Linked DNA regions of Homo sapiens: regions 1, 2 and 3 are each linked to region 4. The links are contacts of gene promoters, found by promoter capture Hi-C in blood cells and fetal thymus (Javierre and others, 2016). All regions are on one chromosome and are shown on one strand. Each heading gives the region's core, a stretch centred on a gene start or on the middle of the fragment in contact. The rest is flanking DNA. Distances are from core to core; before and after follow the strand shown.

What was found. The method cuts DNA at HindIII sites, captures the fragments that hold promoters and counts their contacts. A CHiCAGO score of 5 or more calls a contact.
Region 1: a fragment that was not itself captured here is called in contact with the fragment with the promoter of MAGEL2 in region 4 in 2 of 17 cell types (M0 macrophages and endothelial precursors); the score reaches 11.9 in M0 macrophages.
Region 2: a fragment that was not itself captured here is called in contact with the fragment with the promoter of MAGEL2 in region 4 in 1 of 17 cell types (M0 macrophages); the score reaches 5.5 in M0 macrophages.
Region 3: a contact is called between a fragment that was not itself captured here and the fragment with the promoter of MAGEL2 in region 4, in 1 of 17 cell types (M2 macrophages). The highest score is 8.0, in M2 macrophages.

The regions. Positions count from the first base shown.
Region 1 is chr15:25,448,271-25,450,970 of GRCh38, reverse strand. No RefSeq gene overlaps it. Among named protein-coding and RNA genes, the nearest start is that of UBE3A, 11 kb to the right of the region's middle. The HindIII fragment of the contact is 2,464 bases long and covers 131-2,594 here.
Region 2 is chr15:25,278,335-25,281,034 of GRCh38, reverse strand. SNHG14 (small nucleolar RNA host gene 14) reads right to left here. Exons shown (of 148, transcript NR_146177.1): 146 at 2,151-2,188. SNORD109B (small nucleolar RNA, C/D box 109B) reads right to left here and starts at 2,692; the gene lies at 2,626-2,692. The HindIII fragment of the contact is 1,377 bases long and covers 688-2,064 here.
Region 3 is chr15:24,773,787-24,776,486 of GRCh38, reverse strand. No RefSeq gene overlaps it. Among named protein-coding and RNA genes, the nearest start is that of SNHG14, 48 kb to the left of the region's middle. RefSeq lists an enhancer at 2,424-2,700. The HindIII fragment of the contact is 5,845 bases long and covers 1-2,700 here.
Region 4 is chr15:23,646,526-23,649,225 of GRCh38, reverse strand. It overlaps MAGEL2 (MAGE family member L2), which reads left to right and starts at 1,359. Exons shown (of 1, transcript NM_019066.5): 1 at 1,359-2,700. The coding sequence starts at 1,484. RefSeq lists an enhancer at 2,072-2,700. The HindIII fragment of the contact is 5,160 bases long and covers 219-2,700 here.

The DNA.
Region 1 (2,700 bases), core at 113-2,612, 1.8 Mb before region 4:
AACTTATTGGGTTATCCTCAGCTGTACCCAGACTCACCTTCACTCACATGACTCTGTGTCTATGAACTGACTGAGGTTTGGGATTTGGCAAGGGGCTGTGAATCTCTATTGAGGTGGCTTAAGTCAAGCTTTGGTTTACTCAGAACTAGAATTGTACTTATCTAAAAGGACACAGTAAACTGATTACCTATTTCAGTCCTTGGGACTTCATGACCAATTCACCTGTCAAAGATCCCTGTAGGCTAAACTATTCAGATTGCTACTCTAGCTCTTTTGTGCAAGATTTCACCTCCTAAATTAGACTGCACGTGGCCTGCTTAATGACTTGAACCACAATCTCTTAAATCAAAGTCTTTCCTTCAAAAGCTACTTTAGTCCAGCTGACTACAAAAGATCATTTAACTGTTTGGTCACTGTGTGCCATGGACCACTGTCCCACTGCCAGCACTACTTAGATACTTACTGTTTTCAAATCCATTTCAGACACTAGTCCCAGATTTCTATTTCTTTAAGGATCTTTTGTCATCAATTCTGTGTCAATAATACTTGTTGGTTGGAGACAACAGAATCCATAGTAACTAGTCTAGGCAGGCATGTCAGATGATCCTAGATGACCCTTATGCTCAAGTATTTGCCGGAAGGACTCACAGGACTCAGAAAAGCTCTTACACTCATGGTTATAGTTCATTACAGCAAATGGATACAGATTAAAATCAGCAAAGGGAAAAGGTACATGGGATGAAATCCAGGAGAAACTAGGTCCAGGCTTCCAGATATCTTCTCTGCTGGAGTCACATGGAGATACACTTAATTGTCTCTGCAATAATGTGTAACACATATGAAGTAGCTTCCTGGTTGGCAAGACTTCATAAATTTTGCCATTATTTGAAGATAACCCACACCTTGGTGTCCAGGGTTTTCACAGGTATTAGTGGTCAGTCACATAGGCATATAGTACCTGTATGACTTCTATTCCAGCCACCGCAAACTTCTCCTCTCCCTGCTGGCTCCTGAGCCAAAAACAGGCATTTACCATAAATCACTTTGTTAGGATGAACTTATCTGGCCAAACTGATACAGCATGACCCACAGCCTCAGGTATATAAAACACTCTCATCAGGCAGAATGTTTCAGGGTCTCAGAGGTTAGTCAGGGGCTAGTCAAGGACCAATCCTGAAGGCAGGCCTTTTTTTTTTTTTTTTTTTTTTTTTGAGACGGGGTCTTGCTCTGTCGCCCAGGCTGGAGTGCAGTGGCATGATCTCAGCTCACTGCAAGCTCTGCCTCCCAGGTTCACGCCATTCTCCTGCCTCAGCCTCCTGAGTAGCTGGGACTACAGGCACCCGCCACCATGCCCAGCTAATTTTTTGTATTTTTAGTAGAGACTGGGTTTCACCGTATTAGCCAGGATGGTCTCGATCTCCTGACCTGGTGTTCCACCTGCCTCAGCCTCCCAAAGTGCTGGGATTACAGGCGTGAGCCACCATGCCCAGCCAAGGCAGGCCTTTTTTTGGAACCTACAGGGTTTGACCAACCCAGGACTGCTGAGTTAACCCTTTCCTGTGCAGCAAGAAAAGATTTATTTAAAAAAAAAATGGAAAATCACAGTTTAATCAGAAGGGATGAAAAGACAGCTTCTAGCTTGTATTTCTGAGAACATTTCCCAGAACCATATCATAAAACTGGCCTGCTAAGGAAGATGTCTCTGCTAACCCAGAACAAGGTTAAATTGCATGTGGTTTATGGTTATATATGGGAATGCCCTGGTTCTTATGGAAAAGATACAGGGATAAAGTGTTACAAAGTCTGTAACTTATGACAAATGGGTCCATAGCTGGAGATAACAGATAAATGGATAGATAGAACAAATATGGCCAGATATAAACTACCAGGACATCTAGCTAAAGAAAATATGGTTATTGATTATACTATGCTCTAAACTTTTCTTTAGATTTAAAAAATGACCAAGAAATAAGGAAGTACAAAAAACTATGGCATGTTTCATATGAGAAGTGTTTGACATAAAAGGGAAATTGGGAGGCTGGGTGTGGGGCTCACGCCTGTAATCTTAGCACTTTGGGAGGCTGAAGTGGGAGGATCGCTTGAGCCCAGGAGTTCAAGACCAGTCTGGGTAACATAGTGAAACCTAATCTCTACTTAAATATATATATATAAAATAAATTGAAAAAAAGAGAGAAATAGGAAAAAAGCTACTGAGAACTAGATAGTAGGTTTAGTAGGTTTGAAAGTCATGAAGAAGTTCAGACTGAAGGACTTCTAGATGTGAGGAGATTACAATCAGGTAATAAAATATAGTACAGTTGACACTTGGCACACATAGAAATGCCACAGAAATATGGAAAAAAAGGAAAATATGATTGCCTTTGGGTGTTAACCTGTTGGCTTATTCACATATGGACCAAAGCAGAGTTTGTTATAAGTCACTTAAAAAAAAGAGAAATGGCTTCCAGGCCTGCAAGATATAATGGAAGCCTGACATTTCTAAAGAAAAGGGCTAGTCATCAATGAAAACACTGGATAAAATCAGACTAGGAAAGTCTGGCTGTAACTTCCTAGGGGATATTTGCCCAAAAGCTTCAACATACTCTCATTCCCGTCAATGATGCTTCACGGAAGTTGAATGTATCAGGTATCAATTGTCCAGTTCTTTCAGTTCCTGTTCTGTCACTTCCCTTTGTCTAG
Region 2 (2,700 bases), core at 127-2,626, 1.6 Mb before region 4:
ATAAAATATATTTTATGTTGTATAAATATATACATAAATATATATCTGTTGTATAAATATAGATGTTGTATAAATTATATCTATGTTGTGTGTATATATACAATGTAGATAACTTTACCTTGACATTCTAATACATTACTGAAATAATGGTAACCTGAATATTTCATGATTTGACTATAACTCATTAAAGAAATCACATGGACCTAATTTTCAAGCATTACTCATTCTGGGAATGCTCTACAGAAACAGAGGCATGAGTGCATAAAAACTGGCATATTCCGATTATAAATGTATGGTATCTTGCAGTAGCAAAATGTTGATAACCATTATTCTGAAAACAAGAAATGGCTAAGGAAAATGTGGTGTCCTTCACATTCACTGAGGACACTGGCACATCTATAGTTTTTGACATAGAGACCTCAAGACCTATAGGACCTCAGGAGATTGTACAACATATATTACTACCAAAATGTCAAATCTAAAGCTCATTTACAGTAAAGTTAATTGGTTATGATCAATACATCTTATATAGAAAGATAAATGGATTGATAGATACTTGTATTAGCATAGAAAGTTTTTCCCTAATATAGGGCAGATGATTAAACATATTTCCTCTGGAAAGCATGGGGAAAAGGTTAAAAATACATCTGTCATAAATAATTTTATATTCTTCTATATTGTTAAGCTTTCTTAAAATGAAGTGATTACTCTTGGCAGTAATTTATGGCTGAAACTCTTTGATCTCAGACTAAAAAAGGGAAAATCAGGGAAGCAGGATTAAAAGTTGAAACACATTTTAGCTTTAGTATGTCGAGAACTCAAAAGGTGAAAAGCACTTAAATTTATCAGTTGTGTATTGACTAAGTAATCTCCAAGGAAATCCTTAAGCAAGGAGTTCACTGTTCTGACTTTTGGCTTTATACTTTACCCAACTTCATCAATATTTCCCCAAATTCTAAACTGTACAATGCATGTGGGCCTCTATTAAGATCTATGAGAAACTTCTTTGCATGTGGTGTAGAAATAATCACACTAAATCTTAACAACTATATTTGCTTGTATATTCAATTATGTAGCACATAGAATAGAAAAGCATGAAGGTATCACATTAATTCCCTCTCTGCAAAACAAGAGACATGTGCCAGTTCAAGTGATCTGTCAAAGAAAGTATAAAGAATTGAGTACCAAAATACATGAATATGTGGGGACAATACTGCAATCCTTAAGACTTGAGATTGTTCAGCATGTTTTTATAACAGAGAAAAAAGTATAAGAGAATTTAAGAATATACATAGAAAAAATATAAATGTGTTAAAATAAAAATACTTGAGTAACTACTCATGACATGATTTGCTAAAAAGCCCTGTGCTAAAGAGAGAACCCACTTGATCTATTATGAGGGCATCAATCAACAAGCACCATGTAATACACAATCTACTTGAGACTTTTTTTATGTATTAACCAATATTTTGACTAGTTCGATAAGTTTTTTTTACTTTCTATCGAAGAATAATATACATGTAGAAAAGTGCATACACTAAAATTGTAAAGCTCAATGTATTTGCATGATGCAATCACAGCAAGTACTCAACACACAGATCAAGAAATAAAAATTACATGCATTCTAGAAACCAGCCAGGTGTCTTATATCTATGATTATCTCAGACATGCCATCAAGAGAAGAAAATTTCCTATATAACTTACCTTGTTGCAACAATGAGGAAAAGACTAATTCAAGTCAATATTTAATAATTAAATTAGAAGCAGAAATATAATGTAGTATGACCACAAAGATATTATGAACCATGGAGTCTCTATTCTGAAACCCCAATAATTAAACAGATGGGGAAAATCTGTTAATATTTTGGCACACCTGGATTTCACTACAATACATTTTGATCCAATATGAAATTGCCAAAAATTCTCTTAAATTCTACATTTTTCCATAAAAGCAAAAGAGAGTTAAAATTAAAAGAGAAATGATAAGGATTCAATAGTGTAGGTGACATGGTGAGGGTCTCAATGAGGAAAAGGACATATCATGAAAATGTCCTCCAATAAGCTTCTGAAAAGATGTACAAAACGACCTAAAGACCTAGCAAAGAGCACATGACATATGAATTTCAAAAGATAATGGCTTAGCTACTCACCCCTGTTCTCTGAAGTGGAGGATCAGATTCCAGGCCTTCTATCTCAGCAAAACATGAAAGAAAAAAAAAGCAAAAATAATCTTAGAAAATACTCCACAGTAAAAATAACAAAGCAATAAACTTGGTTCCACTGTCATTATTTAATAGAGGCATGCCATATTTCCTTCTTTCAGCACAACACTAATGAGATTTTCAGACATATCACAGTTGCTTGACCCTTAATTCAATCTTCTAAAGTTTTTCATTTGTTACTTAAGAAATATTTCCTATATGTAAGTATCTATCTACAATTAAAGCAAGTCTTGGGTCACTAGGCACACTAAAGTGCACACTGACTCATAAGACAGGATGCCACTGCCCTCTTCGAAGAGATAGAAAAGGCACGCTCACAGGGGTACTATGTTGTCACTGAGGGATCCCCAAATAGAGCCAGGCTCTGAGAGTCTTATTTGTCCTATTGGAGGGCCGCACATCTGGACCTCAGATTGACATCTGGAATGAGTCCCTCAGCATCCTCAGACAATTATTCTCATCATCGATCCAAACAAGC
Region 3 (2,700 bases), core at 46-2,545, 1.1 Mb before region 4:
CAAAGGATTGGGATTACAGGCATGAACCACTGTGCCTAGCCTTACCTTACTTAATAGTATATTGTACAGTTTTTCTTGTCATCAAATTTAGACATGTTTAATTTATGCATGTCCCCAGTCTAATCATGAGAAGACATGAGACAAATCCATATTGTGGGACACCCCACAAAATTCCTGATCAGTTCTTTTCAAAAGGGTCAAAGTCATGCAAAATAGACTGAGAAACTACTGCAGATTGGAAAAGACCCGATGTGACAGGTAGACCATAAGATGGTGCTCAATGAACCCTACCTGTTGTTTTACAAAACCCTGTAGTATAATCTGCCACGCCTGACAGTGGACAGGATATGGGATGTACTTGAAACACAGACTATTACAAAGGTAATGGGATGTTACTTGAGTGAAATAATACAAATTTCTTCCTCCCAGACCTTGCATATTTTTCTGGAATTGTAACGCATGTTATGCTCTGAGACACCAAAAACAATCATGAGGCTTGTAGGAGAATACCAAAGAACATAAGGAGACATGTAGACTAGGCTCAGCTGTGTGAACAAGTGTATGTACATGGAGAAACATCTACACTGGATTAACACCCAGTCCCACAGTGCTCTTCCCTTTTTACTCCTATAATTTACAAACAGTAGCTCCCAGAATTCCTTGAAATCCACTGCCCCTTTCTCATGCCCTGGCCTGTGCCATGGACAGTCTTTTTCCTCTTCTAATTCCCCTCCTCTGCTTGGTCAAAAACCGTTCCTCAATCTTCAGAATCTCCTCCAATGTTCCTCATCCTAGAGGCCTTCCTTGTCCATCCCATTACAGGTCTCATGCCTGTCCTCTCAGTTCCCAGGGGCACGCTTCCACTTACAGTTTGGATTTTGTTAAGTTTTCTGAATTCCCACTGGACTGAAATCAGAGGACATAAATTTTAAAAATATTTTCCCCTGTGAGCCCAACACATGCAGTGGCCAAAAAGCAACACAGATTATTTTAATATTGAATTTTACATATGAATGAATCTCTCAAACTCTTTACTATATTCTTGTCTTTTCCCCAATTAACTCTATCTTTCAATCTGAAGAGGATTTGAACTTGAAAATGAACATTTTTTTTTTGCTCCTTTCTGTTCTCAGAACAGGTGTAAACCCTGCTGTCTCCCTGACTCTTCTTGTCTCCCCATTCTCAAGCCATTGTAGAGACCCTCTTATGGATCACGCTATTTCTACCTCATATGCTCCTTTTCTCTCCTGGAAAGTTTTGCCCCTTTGATCAAGGAAGATGTTCTTGTTCTGTAAGATGTAGCTCTACTAATATGGCTCCCTTAATAAATATTTCCATATCCTTCTTACTTATCATATTTCACTTTTTTGTATTATTTTCTGTCAAATGTTACAATTCTGTTAGCCTTCTTGCAGCCATGGCATAGTTTTCATTGTCTGCACATGGATGAACTTGTTTTGAAACCTTCTGCTATTTCCTTCTGTAATGTCACCTGCAGCAAAACATGCACAAAGGTGTCAGCAGGACAGGTTGAAATCACAGAGTAGTGCAGCCTCATTTACTAAGGAATGCCTCATTGCCATCTCTCTTCATGGCACAGACGGTGGAAGACATCCATGACTTCTGATTCAAAATCCAATTCAGATCAGAATTAGTTTCAAAATATTGCGAATTCATTTATGAATTACTTTTACTTTCAAGTTCATATGTACAAAATCAGACTATTATGTGTATAGCAGTTTGAGATATATGTATTTCCATTTAGATCCACCTTAAATCTTTGTTTCATTGACTTCCAGTAGGTAGCCCTCATTTAGACTCCTACAGGTACTGTACAAGGCCAATTCTGACCTCCGGTTCTAGGAACTTACAACTATATCCAGGTCCTGGTACCAGAATGGCGATCAACTCTGCCGTAATGGGAGATGAAAGGGAGCTGGAAATGGGTGTTTACAGTGTGCCGTTCATGGGATACTTCTTTTACGTGGCCAATGCCCTAAGCCATAACTGTCTGACCCATAACCAAGTGTCTGTCTAACAGGAAATGTGTTTAGAACGGCAGACGCCCTTGTGGCTCTTGTCTGACCTATGACTTGTTTCTTCCTAGGTGATCATCTCTCTGGCACTGGGAACCAGATCTTGTGTTCTCCCAGTGTCCTAGGAAAAATCAGGCCTTGGGTAACCCCCGGTTCTTCAAATGGAAGGCACAAATTTAATAAGCCGATTAGTAAAAGAATTTTGGGATTGAATTATCAGTTGTAAAGTGATGGATAGAGTGATGAAGTAAGGGAAGTCAGGATACAGAGAAAAGCATATAGCTGAGAAACTTCTTTCAACCTTGTACAACTTTTTGTTAAAATAAAAAATGGTATTTTATAATGGATATAGAGGCATTGGGGGAAAGTTTGACCTTGAAGCCCCCACAATACCTCTCGTAAAACAGGTGCTTAGTTGGAAAAGATAAAAGAGAGTCAATCGAGAATCTTAGGGAAAATACAAACATGATTAAAGAAGTATCCCTTAAAAAATGACAGTAATTTCAAAATTATTGAAAAATAATTCAATTTTTCAGACGAATGCAGAAAAAAGAGAAATGAAAATTAATATTTAAAAGAAAGGGTATAAAATCATGGTCTGTGCAACGTTTATGAAAAGACAGTGTTGCATAAACACTAAGGTATTTTTATGGGAAAAAGAAAC
Region 4 (2,700 bases), core at 110-2,609:
TTGGGAGTGTGTACATACCTTCTCTTGGGTCCATAAATTACCAAATTTGAGGACCCCTGGCTAAGGGTACCTGGGAAGGAGTGGGGTGTACCCTTCATCGTCCTCATCTGCCCCCTGGTGGCACGTTTTGTCACTCTGGACTCCTGCCGTAGGCTGCCAACAGCCTATTTAAACGAAACATCCTTGATATTTAGTGCTTTGTATATTTCCAGAAAGCTTTTCAATTACTGAGATTATCACTTCCTCTCACCATAAAGTTGTATAGCATTGCCCAATAATACTATTGTCATCTGCTTTATCTGTTAATACTTGATTTGTCTCATATTTAAACTGATTTTTGTCACGAGAAGTTTCCCCAGAAATTTTTTTATTCTTTGCCTGTTTTTCCTATATATCCAAATATATCAATTTTTGATCTATTTATATACCCATTTTGTTATCTTCAGGTGCGTTATTTGGTTTTCATTTTTTAAATTTCTTTCCCATTCTGCAGATGAAAAATACTGAGAAACCTACTCTGTTCCTGCATCCGAGCCATTCCACAGGCAGTTTTCCCATACTAAAAATGCTGTCTTCCACTGATGTGTGGCATGTCTCAGTTCCGTGACTTCTTTTCCTCTCTCTCTACTCGCTGCTGTCCCTTTTCTCCATGTGTCTCTAACATGCCTGTGTTCTTCAAGACCCAGTGCAACCACATTCCCTCCCACAACTCTATTTTCATGAGGAATAGCCAAGCAGGACTCCCAAGACATCATACAGGAGTGCCTACAGGGTATCTCTCCTTGGCAGTCCCACAGCACCGCAAATGCCCTGTGTCTGCCAATACTCATCAGCCTCTCTTCCCGTGTGCCTCTCCTGGGACCCTAAGAGAGTAACAGTCCCTGCAACTTCCCACTTTCTCCAGGCAGGGACTTGTGTGCCTTTTCCATGTCTTTGACTCCTTTATTCAATTATAATACAGGTATCTGTCTGCTATAACTCCTGGAACTCTCTTATGTAAATGCGCTTTTTTCATTCTCCGCCTCACATCTTAGCCCAGACCACACCATCTCCCCCCGCCGTCTTGGATACCTTCCATGTTTCCAGTGGTCTGCTCCCACTCCACACTGCAGTACAGTGATTTTTCTAAAACATGGATGGGTTCCTGTCACTCCCCTGTGAAAAGTCATCCATGTGGAGTCTGACTGGTCTGCATTTGGGGACTGGACAGAGTGAGAAGGGATCCTGTGTCAGCCAGGACTCCGGTAGACGCCCCTATGCAATATCCACTTGTGGTGGTCGGGGGCGGGGAAGGGGCGGGATTGAGCCCCCTTCCCCCCTCCTCCTTACTGCGGAAAGCTGCGGAGCGAGCAGCACTCACTTCCTATTCAGCATTCAGCAGGGAGGGAGCCTCTGAACAGCCACGTAGGCATTCTCTTCTCTCTGGAGGAAAAGGCCCAGCAGCTGTCCGAGGAAAAGACCCACCAGCTGTCAGCAAAGGGACATGTCGCAGCTAAGTAAGAATCTGGGTGACTCGAGTCCTCCGGCGGAGGCCCCGAAGCCGCCTGTCTATAGCCGCCCTACGGTTCTGATGCGGGCCCCGCCCGCTTCCTCCCGGGCTCCGCCAGTCCCTTGGGATCCACCTCCAATTGACTTGCAGGCTTCATTGGCCGCTTGGCAGGCACCTCAGCCTGCCTGGGAGGCCCCACAGGGCCAGCTGCCCGCCCCGGTGGTTCCGATGACCCAGCCTCCTGCCCTAGGGGGCCCGATAGTCCCGGCTCCCCCGCTGGGGGGCCCGATGGGTAAGCCTCCGACTCCCGGGGTCCTGATGGTGCATCCTCCACCTCCGGGAGCCCCGATGGCCCAGCCTCCGACCCCGGGAGTCCTGATGGTGCATCCTTCAGCTCCCGGAGCTCCCATGGCCCATCCTCCTCCTCCGGGGACCCCAATGTCCCACCCTCCCCCTCCGGGGACCCCAATGGCCCATCCTCCTCCTCCGGGGACCCCGATGGCCCATCCTCCTCCTCCGGGGACCCCGATGGTGCATCCTCCTCCTCCGGGGACCCCGATGGCTCATCCTCCCCCTCCGGGGACACCGATGGCTCATCCTCCCCCTCCGGGGACACCGATGGCTCATCCTCCACCTCCGGGGACACCGATGGCTCATCCTCCCCCTCCGGGTACACCGATGGCCCAGCCTCCAGCTCCGGGAGTCCTGATGGCCCAGCCTCTGACTCCGGGAGTCCTGATGGTCCAGCCTGCTGCTCCGGGAGCACCGATGGTCCAGCCGCCTCCAGCAGCCATGATGACCCAGCCTCAGCCTTCAGGAGCACCGATGGCCAAGCCTCCAGGTCCAGGAGTCCTGATGATTCATCCTCCAGGTGCGAGAGCTCCGATGACCCAGCCTCCAGCTTCAGGAGCACCGATGGCACAGCCGGCGGCCCCACCTGCACAGCCGATGGCCCCACCTGCACAGCCGATGGCTTCTTGGGCCCCGCAGGCTCAGCCTCTGATCCTGCAAATCCAGTCTCAAGTTATAAGGGCTCCTCCGCAGGTTCCCCAGGGCCCGCAGGCACCCCCAGCGCAGCTAGCCACACCCCCGGGCTGGCAGGCGACCTCGCCAGGATGGCAGGCCACGCAGCAAGGCTGGCAGGCCACTCCCCTGACTTGGCAGACCACGCAGGTCACCTGGCAGGCACCAGCCGTTACCTGGCAGGTGCC